Linked DNA regions of Homo sapiens: region 1 is linked to region 2. Evidence: promoter capture Hi-C in 16 types of primary human blood cells and fetal thymus (Javierre and others, 2016). All regions are on one chromosome and are shown on one strand. Each heading gives the region's core, a stretch centred on a gene start or on the middle of the fragment in contact. The rest is flanking DNA. Distances are from core to core; before and after follow the strand shown.

Region 1 (5,563 bases), core at 380-2,879, 94 kb before region 2:
CAGCTTCCCTGGGCAGATGGGCGTGAAGACCCCAGTGCATCTCGAAGCCCTGCGAGGAAAGGGCAGGACTGAACTAGCAACAATTGTCTAGAGAACGATGCAAAGGAGAAACCACGAAAATGATTTGCTGGGGTCGGGGTAGGGAGTGCGACTGTGCGGAAAAGGTTGACAAAGAGGACAGTCATTTATTTGCTGCTGGAAGCCATTTACATGAATTGACTCATTGAAAGCAAGGCCAGGTAGAAGGCAATCAACCAAGAGGCTGAAGAATTTGTCCAGGATCACACAGCTAAGTGGCAGAAGGAGGACTAGAACCCGGAAAAGTGGCTTAGAACTCCATGCCCTTCACCACTGACAATGCTGGTGTCCTAAAAACAGGTCTGAGGGTGGGGGGCAGGTGCGCACAGTGAGTAGGGGTCAGGAGGCAGCGATATCCTCACCTTCCAGAAACAGAGGTCAACCAATGAGGCTGACAACTAAAAAAAAAAAAAATCAAGATGGAGTCTCAGAGGCCAGGCAGAGTGGCTCATGCCTGTAATCCCAGCACTTTGGGAGGCTGAGGCAGGCAGATCACCTGAGGTCAGGAGTTCAAGACCAGCCTGAGCAACATGGCAAAACCCCACCTGTACTAAAAATACAAAAATCAGCCAGGTGTGGTGGCGGGCGCCTGTAATCCCAGCTACTCAAGAGGCTGAGGCAGGAAAATCACTTGAACCCAGGAGGAAGAGATTACAATAAGCCGAGATCATGCCACTGCACTCCAGTCTGGGCGACAGAGCAAAGACTCCGTCACAAAAAAAAAAAAAAAAAGATGCAGTCTCAGAGGCAAATGACACAGGGTAAAAACAAAATAATTGGTTAAAGGAGGTGAAATAGTTGCCTCTGGGGAGGGGACAGGAGGGGGTGAAGGACAGGAACAGGGAACTGCTGTTCCTCTTAACAAACCTTGTAGAGCTATTTGCCTGTATAAGTTTCATGAAAATAAAAGCTAAAAATAAAGAGAAGAAATAAACACTGTTCCCGGATCCTAGACAGAGCCTGCAAGCCAGGGCTGCCAGGTGAGGCCCCGGGGACGGGGTAGCCATGGCTTTTCCTGTTTGCCCTGGAGACTTTGTCTTTGACTTGGGAGACACCCTCTGGCCCTCCAACACCAAGCACGGTGGTTGGGGGTTGGGGGTGGTTCCCCGTGTGAGTTACGGCCCCAGATTGGTTGACGATCCCAGCAGGGAGGGAATCGCCTGCCTGTGGAAGACCCCAGCTGCACCAATCTTCCTGCTCATTCAGGGGCTGCTGGGCTTGACCTATCGATGTCAGTTGCAAATGAGGGGTCCTCCCACAGCTGCTCAGCCAGCCCCTCATCTGAGACCCGTGCTCCAAAAAAGAAGCTGGGGCGGCAGAGGGCTGTCACCTCACACGCTAATGACATGGGCACGGACATAAGAGGCCCCCAAGAGACACACCAAGCACCTGAGGTCACAGAGACAAAGTAGAATCCACAGAGCAGTGGTGCCCCAGGGAGGCAGGAGACCCTCATCCCATCTCCAATCCCACCCTGGTCCCCACTCCCCAGTCCAGATGGGACTCCCTGCCTCTTTCCCAGATGTCCCCCACACTGACTCACTGTGGGCGGCAGCTTTTACGTAAGAGGGCCAAGTGATGGCCCCCACAACAGATCATCTGAGGCTGAGTATTAGACACCACTGCATATCCACCACGCCCCTCTTTTTCTCTTCCTGTCAAACTCAGTAATGGAGACAACCTCCTTCCTCTGGGAGTTTCAGATGCAGAGGCAAACTTTTCCCTCTCACAGCTATGATAACGGTGTCGTCTCATCTGGCCCTTAGCAATTTTTGAACCCCAGCACATCCAGCTAGTGGAATTAATACTTCTCAGGGTTCCTTCGAGGGCCAAATGAATCATGCAGGCTGGGGTATTTTGGGAAATAAAAGGGTGAGAAATCCAAAGAATATTTTGAGAAATGTGCGCAATCAGCCCTCTCAGATGTTCAAATAGATGATTAAGTCTCTGATTAAACAGCAGAGCTGGCATGAATGGAACTGACCAGAGAGCAGAGAAATGTTCTCATGTACATGAATTTAATACATGACCAAGCTGTCTTCAGTGGGCAAAGAACAATGGAAGGAGTAGCCAATATAAAAGCAGCTTGGGGGTCGGGCGCAGTGGCTCACACCTGTAATCCCACCACTTTGGGAGGCCGAGGCAGGTGGATCACCTGAGGTCAGGTGTTCAAGACCAGCCTGACCAACATGCAGAAACCCCGTCTCTACTAAAAATACAAAATTAGCCAGGCGTGGTGGTGCATGCCTGCAATTCCAGCTACTTGGGAGGCTGAGGCAGGAGAATCGCTTGAACCGGGGAGGCGGAGGTTGCAGTGAGCCAAGATCACACCATTGCACTCAGCCTAGGCAAAAAGAACAGAACTCCATCTCAAAAAAAAAAAAAAATCAGCTTGGATGCCTTCTTCATATCTTTCACAGATGCTGAAAAAAATAAATTATTTATCAAGCAAAGCAAACCCTAGGAGGGCTGGTCAAAAATATAAGTGAATATTAACCAGATCTCAGGAGGAATGGGAAGTCTTCGAGCTTTAAAATCATTAAGGAGATTTTTTTTTTGAGGAGAAGCAAAAGTGATTGACGACTATATAAAAACAAAAAACAAATCTCCCATACCACAGAATAAAAAACTAATGGGGGTAGAGGGGAACTAAATTGACAACCAAATGAATGGCAAAGGGTTAATATCAATAATCTGTGAAAACACTACACTGGCTGGTAAGAAAAGCCTTAAACCAACAGGGTTTTTATTTTCTTTTATTTTTTGGAACTTGACGAAATGATACCAAATTTCATCTGGAAAAATAAACGTGCGAGACCAGCCAGGGAAATTCTGAGGAAAAACAAAAGTAGTGGAGGAGGGCTGGCTTTACCAGATGTTAAAACATCTTAGGAAAGTACAATAACTTTTAAAGTTTAGCCCTGGAAAAGAAGTAGACAGTTCCATCCAGACGCGAGTGCAGAAATGGATGGAAATATGTAGGATTTCAGCACGTGAATGAGAGAAGGAATTTCACATCGGAGGGGAAAGGTGCATTGTTCAAAGTAAGGCATAGAGATAAGTGGGTAGCGGCCATCTGGAAAAAATAAAACAGAATCCCTACCTCACCCCCTACACCCAGATCAGTTCCACATGGGTCCAAAATTTAAACCAAAAAATTGAACCTTAAAAATTCTAAAAGAAACATAGGTGAACTTACAATCTTTGGAAAGGAAAGATCTTTATAGGCAGGATACAGAACACAGAAGCCACAATAAAATTCATTTGGGGAAATCAATGGGTGAGAAGTCCCAAGAATATTTTGAAAAAGATGGGGAATAAGCCCTCTCTGATATTAAAATACATGATTAATGGGGAGATGAGAAACAGGCTTTCCTCCATAAAACAGTTCAATACGTGATAATGGTGTCTTCTCTGGACAATGAACAATGGGAAGAACATTCAGACTGTGAAGTTGGGACATCATGAAAAGAAACATAAGTTTAAGTCCATTTTCCACATATACTAAAGAATAAATTATTTATAAAGCAAATCAAATCTTAGGCTGGCCAAAACAATAAAGGAATATTGAACCGGACTCTAAAGGAATGAGAACCTTGCAAGCTTTAAATGATTGAGGAAATCATGAAGGAAAAGGAGAACTGATTCAACTATTTAGAAAAGACCTTCTATATCAAAAAATCAAAGTGCAACAATTTTGACTACGTAACATTTTTTCATTTCTAGGTGAATAAAAAAGGTATATACCAAGTCAAGACAGAGCTGAACAGGGACTGACATTCACAGAATTAATTGCTTTAATTTAGAACATGTTTATACAAGTAAATGAAAGAAAGACTTAAAACCTAACAGATAATTGACAAAATCTGAATATGAAAAAGCAACTCCCAGAAAAACAAATTCAAGTAAATGGTAGCCATATGAAAAATGTTCAAGCTCACTCATCATCAAGAAACAATACAATGCCCTTTGGGGATAGGTTAAAAACCTATCCAATTGGCCAAGATTTGTAAGTTTGAAAATACCCCAAATATATGGAAAAATAGCCATTCTCAAACACTGTAGTGGGAGTATGAATTGGTCTATTCCACTCCTTTTAATGGCTGTATAATACTTCATGTGTGGATGTAGCAACATTTATTCAACCAGTCCCTGTTTATGGACATTTAGGGTTTTTTTCCTCCCAGTTTAGAATGAAAAGTGGTACCATGATGAACATCCTTGTACACACATCTTTGCATCCATGTGTAAACACATTTGTAGTAGAAATTCTTGGCAATGGAACTTCGCAGTAAATGCTGGTTTGCTATGAAAATTTTGAAAGATGTTTCCAAACTGCCTCCCGTAGGGTTACAGTCGTTTATACTCTGACCAATTGTATGTGAGCTGTGTTCCTATACCTTCTCCAGCAGCAAAAATTATAGCATTAATATTGTTTTGTTTTCATTGTTAAGTATATTTTTTAAAAGGGCAGTGGGGGCCAGGTGCGGTGGCTCACGCCTGTAATCCCAGCACTTTGGGAGGCCAAGGCGGGCGGATCACGAGGTCAGGAGATCGAGACCATCCTGGCTAACACTGTGAAACCCCATCTCTACTAAAAATACAAAAAATTAGCCAGGCGTGGTGGCAGGCGCCTGTAGTCCCAGCTACCGGGAGGCTGAGGCAGGAGAATGGCATGAACCCAGGAGGCGGAGCTTGCAGTGAGCCACGATCACACCACTGCACTCCAGCCTGGGGGACACAGTGAGACTCCGTCTCAGAAAAAAAAAAAAAGGGGGCAGTGGGGTGGAGTGGGGTGGGGTGAGTAGGGGGATTGTCAGGAAATTGCAAGTTGTGGTACAAATGTAAGACATTTTGATTTCTTCACCTTTGCCACTTACCTACCACAAGCTCCTCAGCTCATCCCCTTCCCTCCCTGGGCCTCAGTTTTCCCATCTGTGAAACAGGAGAATGAAATAAATTGATATTTTTCAAACTTACTCACCAAATGACAAAGCTGAGTGAGGTGATCTTACCTCTGTGTGTCTGGGGTGGGTGGGCGGTCACCCCTGCCCACTCTTCCCTCCTACACACCAGAGAAGCAAACACACATCGGGAGCTCCAGCCTGGCCCAGCCCACGAATTCAGGACTCTGGTCTCATTCCCAAGCTGCAGCTGAGGAAGGTTAGGAAGCCAATTCTGTTGCAAAGGTGGTCGCTTTCCTGCCATAAGTGATGTTGGACCCCAGGGCTGCCTTTCCTGGTGTCTTAAATGTGAGCCATTCAAACACCAATCTTGACCTGAACCATCTGTGGCTCCCCATCGCCTAGGGAATTAAGGCTGACTCCCTTCACTGATTCTGACCTTGAGCCTCCAGATTCTGGCTCCAGCCTCTCTCTCCATGGTCTGGCCAGACACCCAGTTTCTATCTCCTGCAAACCAAGCCTTGACCACATACCTTATCCAGGGGCTCCCCCTCCTGCTGGCCTTTGTTCACCCACAAGGT
Region 2 (5,277 bases), core at 2,264-4,763:
TGCAGACCGTAGCACATGCTTACTCTGTGGTGGGCTTAAAAATAAAGGTTTCTTTCCTGCTGGCACTCAGCCTCCTAAGTGGTTGGAGGTGAGGCCCTGCACAGCATATGCACCGAGGCGGCCACTGTCAGAAGCACTGCCAGAGAGCAAGCCCACCCTGCCTCTGGGGCCTGAGCCCCCTGTTCCAAGTCCACAGCTGTCTCAGGACTGGCTGGGGGCTCCTTGACAAAGGTTACCTGAGAGTTTTAGGGTACAGGTTTCCTGGGGTTGAGCCAGAGCAGAGACCTAGTGTTTCTCCCCAGCAGCGTCTGGGGCAGCCTGTATCTGAAACCCTTGCCCTTAGCCTCTTTCCCACCCCAGACTCTAGTCCTGGGCCCTCCCAAGAGCCTCTTCCAGGCTGGTCCTCGAGCTTCCTCTTGACTCTGTCTTCCACTCTGCCTCTCCCACTCTGGCTTGTCTGTGGCCTGCAGGCTGACTGGACACTGTCCTTCCCCCAAACCTGTCTCAGCCCACAGGTGTCCTCAGGAGGCCCAGCCCCACCCTCCCGCAGCTCAGGTGTCCTCGACAGGCCCAGCTCCACCCTCCTGGAGCTTTGCTGTGGTTTCCATACAGGGTCGCCTGATGCTCACAGCCACCCTGTGACATGCTTTGGATAAGTACTAATGTCCCCATCATGGGAGGGAAAACTGAGCTTCCCTGAGCTGCACTGGGGGGGCAGGACTTCAGGATCAGGGGCTGGATTCTGAGGCCAATGTCAGTTCTTTTTGCCCTGCACCATCCACTTGCAGACTCAAAGAAACAAGCCAATGGACAGAGACCCATGGGCCCTCCTGAGCCACCTCAGCCACATATTGATAGGATCCTATCAGTGTGCCTAGCTGTCAGGTTCCTATTGGCTCCTGGGACGGGATTCCTATAGGATCTGGGCCAGGCCTTGACCTGAGGGGCCCTAGCACGGCTCCTGCAGGGCCAGAGACATCCCCTGCCCTGTTCCAGGGCTTTCCATTATCAACTGTGAGTGCTGGGGCAGCACGGCTAGGAACTTCCTGTTTAAAGAGAGGGTGTGGCCATGCCTCCGAATCCCATCCCAGCCTCAGCACCTGCCTTCTTCAGCCACTCCTTGGAGAAGATCAGCCAGGCAAGGGCGCCAGGCAGGACATGTGGGGTTGCAGGTTCTCCTCGCTCCCTTGCCTGCTGCAGACCAGGTGGACAGGAGAATAAACAGCTCCCTTGCTTACTGGAGAGATTTATGGTGCTACCGGAGGAGGCCTGTCCTGGCCCTGTGCGGTCCGGAATGGCCCTCAAGGTGGGGACAATAAATCCAGCCCATTATTTTTTATGAGCCTCCCACTCCATAAACAACTCTTTCGGCTGGTAAGCCCAGCTTCACGCCCCTCTCCTGGCCTGGCCTTGAGCCGGCGCCAGGGGCACCCCCAGTACTGACTTCACATCAGTGGTATAAATTTCCCCTAAGCTGCAGAACTTTCAAATCTCCCAGAGTTGTGGGTGCAGGGCAGGGAGAGCTGCAACCCAGAGGGCTAGGCCAACAGGTAGCTTGCCCAGCCCTGGCGTCCTTCTCTGCCACAAGTCCTGGGGCAAACATTCATATATTTTATGACAGAATTGTTTACGAGAATTAAAATGAGATCGTATATACAAGACATCGCCTCATGTAGAGCCCGGTCCAGATCACTAGAACTGTGCAAAGCTGTCATACGCATCATAGCTGAGCATAGTGCATAGACTCTGACACGAGTCATCAGATCCTGAGAACAGTCTGTGTCATGTAGCTACCCCATTTTGCAGGTGAGCAAATGGAGGCTGAAAAGCAAAGAGACTTGTCCGTAGTGAAGAAGTAGCAAAGCCAAGATTTGCACCCAGGCCCAACCGCCTCCTAAGATCAAAGACACTTGATGAACCAATGGATGGGGGGCCAGGGGCAGGGGTGCTGTGCAGCCCAGATGCCCTGTGACACAAGGAGCCCCTGTCTCGCCATGCTGCCCTCTGCCTAGGGCTGCGCTGCCGTCTTTTGCCTGAGTTAGTGCGGCAGCTGCCTCACAGGCCTCCCTGCCCCGCAAGCCTTCTGGTAGCAGCCAGAACCACTGCTCTGCCCAACCCTCTGGCTCTGTCATTCCCCACTCAAGACCTTCCCATGGCTCCTGAGAGGAATGTGGTTCTCTGCAGCCTGTCCTTGCTTGGCATGTCATGAACCAGCCATAGTGAACTTCTCATCCCGGCCTCTGCCCACACAGCTCCCTCTGTCTGGAACTCCCGCTCATCCTGACTGACCATCGCTCACTGAGAACCCTCTACACCTTTTCCCCGCACACCTCCTGATCCCCCAGGTGGAACCTACGCATCCCTGCCTCTGTCTCATTCGGCCTCCACCCTCAGCCTCCCTGCCCTGTCTCTCATGTCTCTGCTCCCGGGCCTTTCTCCCCCAAGTGAGGATATGCCCTTGGACACAAGGACCCGCTGGCCCCCCAGTGTCCAGCCTGGGGTCTGTAGGGAGCAGGCAGTCAGGAAAAGCTGAGGCGAGGTCATGGAGTTGACGTGCGTGAGAACCGAAAGCATGCTGCCCTGGAGGGAAGCTGGCCTGCACGCCTGTTCTAGAGTGAAGTAGCAGAGGCCCTGGAAACACCATGTGTCCTGTCAGAGGTCACTTAGCATGTTGGGGGCAGAGCTGGAACTTGTCCCAGGCCCCTAGGCTCCAGACCAGTGCCCACCCCCTACACCGTAGCCCACAGCCTGGCTTCCCACCTGGGGTTTGTGGGCACAGGCCCTACGCATGGAAAGTCATGCAGATCTGGAGTGTGGGTTCGGAAACCACCGGGCAGATGCCTGGTTGGCAGAGTGGGGAAGCAGCCGAGGTCATCCTGGGTCATTAGGGAGTGGTGTGAGCCCTCCCTAGCCTCATTAGGGAAATTGGGTTGTGACTGTGGCCACAAGGCCAATCTCCTGGTGGGACGTCTGCCTGGCCACCCCTGGCCGCAGCATTCCCCAGGTCCTCGTCACCCGCCTGAGGCCAGCCAGGTGGGTTTTTGTCTCCCGGCCTGGTGGCTGCTTGATTATGTCACCAGACTCTTTCAGCATGTACGTCCCATGGGACTTCTTCCCTTCCTCCTCAGCCCCCGATCCTGGCTCCTCCTCTGCCTCAGCCCTCTCCTAGCTCTCCCCTAAGCTTCTTGAGTCTCCTTGCTGACCAGCAGTGGCCACTTCTCCAGCTCTGACCCCAGTACCAACTGTCCCCTAGACGGGGACCCCAGCTACAGAATTCCCACCTGCCCAAAACCAAACGCAGCATCTTCCCATCCTCCCAGACCTGTGCTTCCTAGCGCGTCCCCCATCAGTGGGGCACCAGCGCTGGGGTGCTGCCTTCACCCTTCCCCTGTGTGGCTCCCACATCCTAGTGTGACCGGATCCCACGTCCGAGCTCTACTCACCTCCCAAACCCAGCCAGCTTCCTCACCCCTGTTGCCCTGCCTTCTTCAAAGGTTGTGGTTGCTAATTGGTGTCCCTACCTCCGCCTCATCCCCCTTCCCTCCTGCATCCTGCAGCCGGGGCGCTTTCTCCGCCCCCCTCCGAGTTCCTCCATTGTCAGGCACTGCTGCCTTCCTGCCTCCCAAGGCCTCCCACAGTCCAGTTCCTCTCTCCTGGTTCCTCCCCATCTGCCTGTTGTTCTCCCTGTTACGGCACACGTGCCCTTTACTGATTACAACCTCGGTATGTGTCATCCTCTGCCTTTACTGCCATTTCCCATTCCCCTCCCTTCCTGGAGAACTCTTAGTCATCCATCAAAACCCAGCGCACTTTCACCTCCTCTCTGAAGCTGTCTCTGACTCTTAGGCAGGCGTGCACGTCTTCCTCTTTACTTGCACTCATGTGTTTGAAATGGTTCAGCCCTCTACTGCAGGACCAGTCCATGAGCTCCCAAGAAGGGCAGGGATGTGTTTAAGTCATCCTTGTGTTTCTCACGTCTCACACAGGGCAGGGTGCAGAGGAAAACATGCCGCATGGGAGTGTAGAGGAGATGAGACCATCTCATGAGGGACTCATGCCCGAAGTGTGTGCATCATCCGTTCACAAAGTGCCTTCACACCCCTCGTGCAGAGCAGTGTGCCCAGCCCACCGCCAGGAGAGGGACGCCCAGCGCGTCGTGGTTTGCTGGGTCCTGCACTGCTGTCCCACCTTGCTCCCTTCCACAGCTGGTCAGCTTGCAGGTCTGCCGGCTTCTCTCCACGAGGCCTCTCCAGCCCCAGTTTGTCTGTCAGAAGCGCAGAGACCCCCAGCCTCACTCCCCAGGCCTCTGCATGGGCTTGTTCCTGCTCCAGAACACCTTTCCCTCCCGCTGCCCAGCCTCGCCTCCACATCACAGAGCGCCTGACTCCTGTGCCCCCAGGGCACATCACAGATCGCCCACACGTTTGTCTGTTGAGTGCAGCGACAAGTCACCAGACTAAGTTTGAGTCGGTGGCGGGAATTGGCTTATGTCCCCAAAGTGGCTGTACCTGCCGATGATCCAAACGTACCTACTGTGCCCCGAGCCCATGAGCCCCTTTTGTCCTCGAAGGGCCATGAGAAGTACCCGCTGCCGCCCCTCATGCACAGCTGAGGGAGAGGAAGTGAGCGCCACTGCTTGTGACGCAGCCGGGACTCCAGCCCCAGGCTGTGGCTCTGCAGCCCCTGCTCCTTTCTGCGGCATGTGGGTGGACAGTGGTGGAGAGTCACTGGCTGGGGCTCGGGGACGCTGCTCACAGCCTTACAGATCCTCCTGTTCGTGTGTCCACAGTGCTCTTACCACTGTCTCCTTCCGGGTTCCCAGGGCTGCTGTGGGAACACTTTTGGGATGCTACCACCTTGGCCCCCATGCCTGGGCGCCCTCCATCTCGTCACCTGCTGGAAAGGAAAAACAGACCTTTTCCCTGTTCGTGGCAGGCCATGGCCTGGGCACCTGCCTGAGCTCTCTGGCAGTAGGAGCTAAGGGTGGCACTAGACAGCCTGTCCGTCCGCCATGGCTTCCTTTAGGGTCCCTGTGGAGGGCAGGGCAGGGTTGCCAGATAAAATACAGAGTGCCCATTTAAACTGGGATTTCAGATAAACAAGTAATTTTTTTTATTATAAGTATGACCCATGCAACTTTTGAACATACTTATACTCAGGAAGTATTGATTGTCCACCTGAAATTCAGATTGAATGAGGCGTCCTGTATTTTTATTTGCTAAACCTGGCAACCTGAGGGAGGAAAGAAGGACACCTCCAGCCTCCCGGGCCTTGAGG

What was found. Contacts are between HindIII fragments. The CHiCAGO score rates a contact against its expected background, and 5 or more counts as called.
Region 1: a contact is called between a fragment that was not itself captured here and the fragment with the promoter of SCUBE1-AS1 in region 2, in 6 of 17 cell types (M2 macrophages, M1 macrophages, M0 macrophages and 3 more). The highest score is 6.6, in M2 macrophages.

Annotation. Positions count from the first base shown.
Region 1 is chr22:43,365,840-43,371,402 of GRCh38, reverse strand. No RefSeq gene overlaps it. Among named protein-coding and RNA genes, the nearest start is that of SCUBE1, 25 kb to the right of the region's middle. RefSeq lists an enhancer at 1,269-1,770. The HindIII fragment of the contact is 4,109 bases long and covers 1-3,683 here.
Region 2 is chr22:43,274,178-43,279,454 of GRCh38, reverse strand. It overlaps SCUBE1-AS1 (SCUBE1 antisense RNA 1), which reads right to left and starts at 3,513. Exons shown (of 2, transcript NR_134582.1): 1 at 3,444-3,513. All of the region lies in intron 4 of SCUBE1 (signal peptide, CUB domain and EGF like domain containing 1), which reads left to right. RefSeq lists an enhancer at 1,235-1,735. The HindIII fragment of the contact is 3,024 bases long and covers 3,184-5,277 here.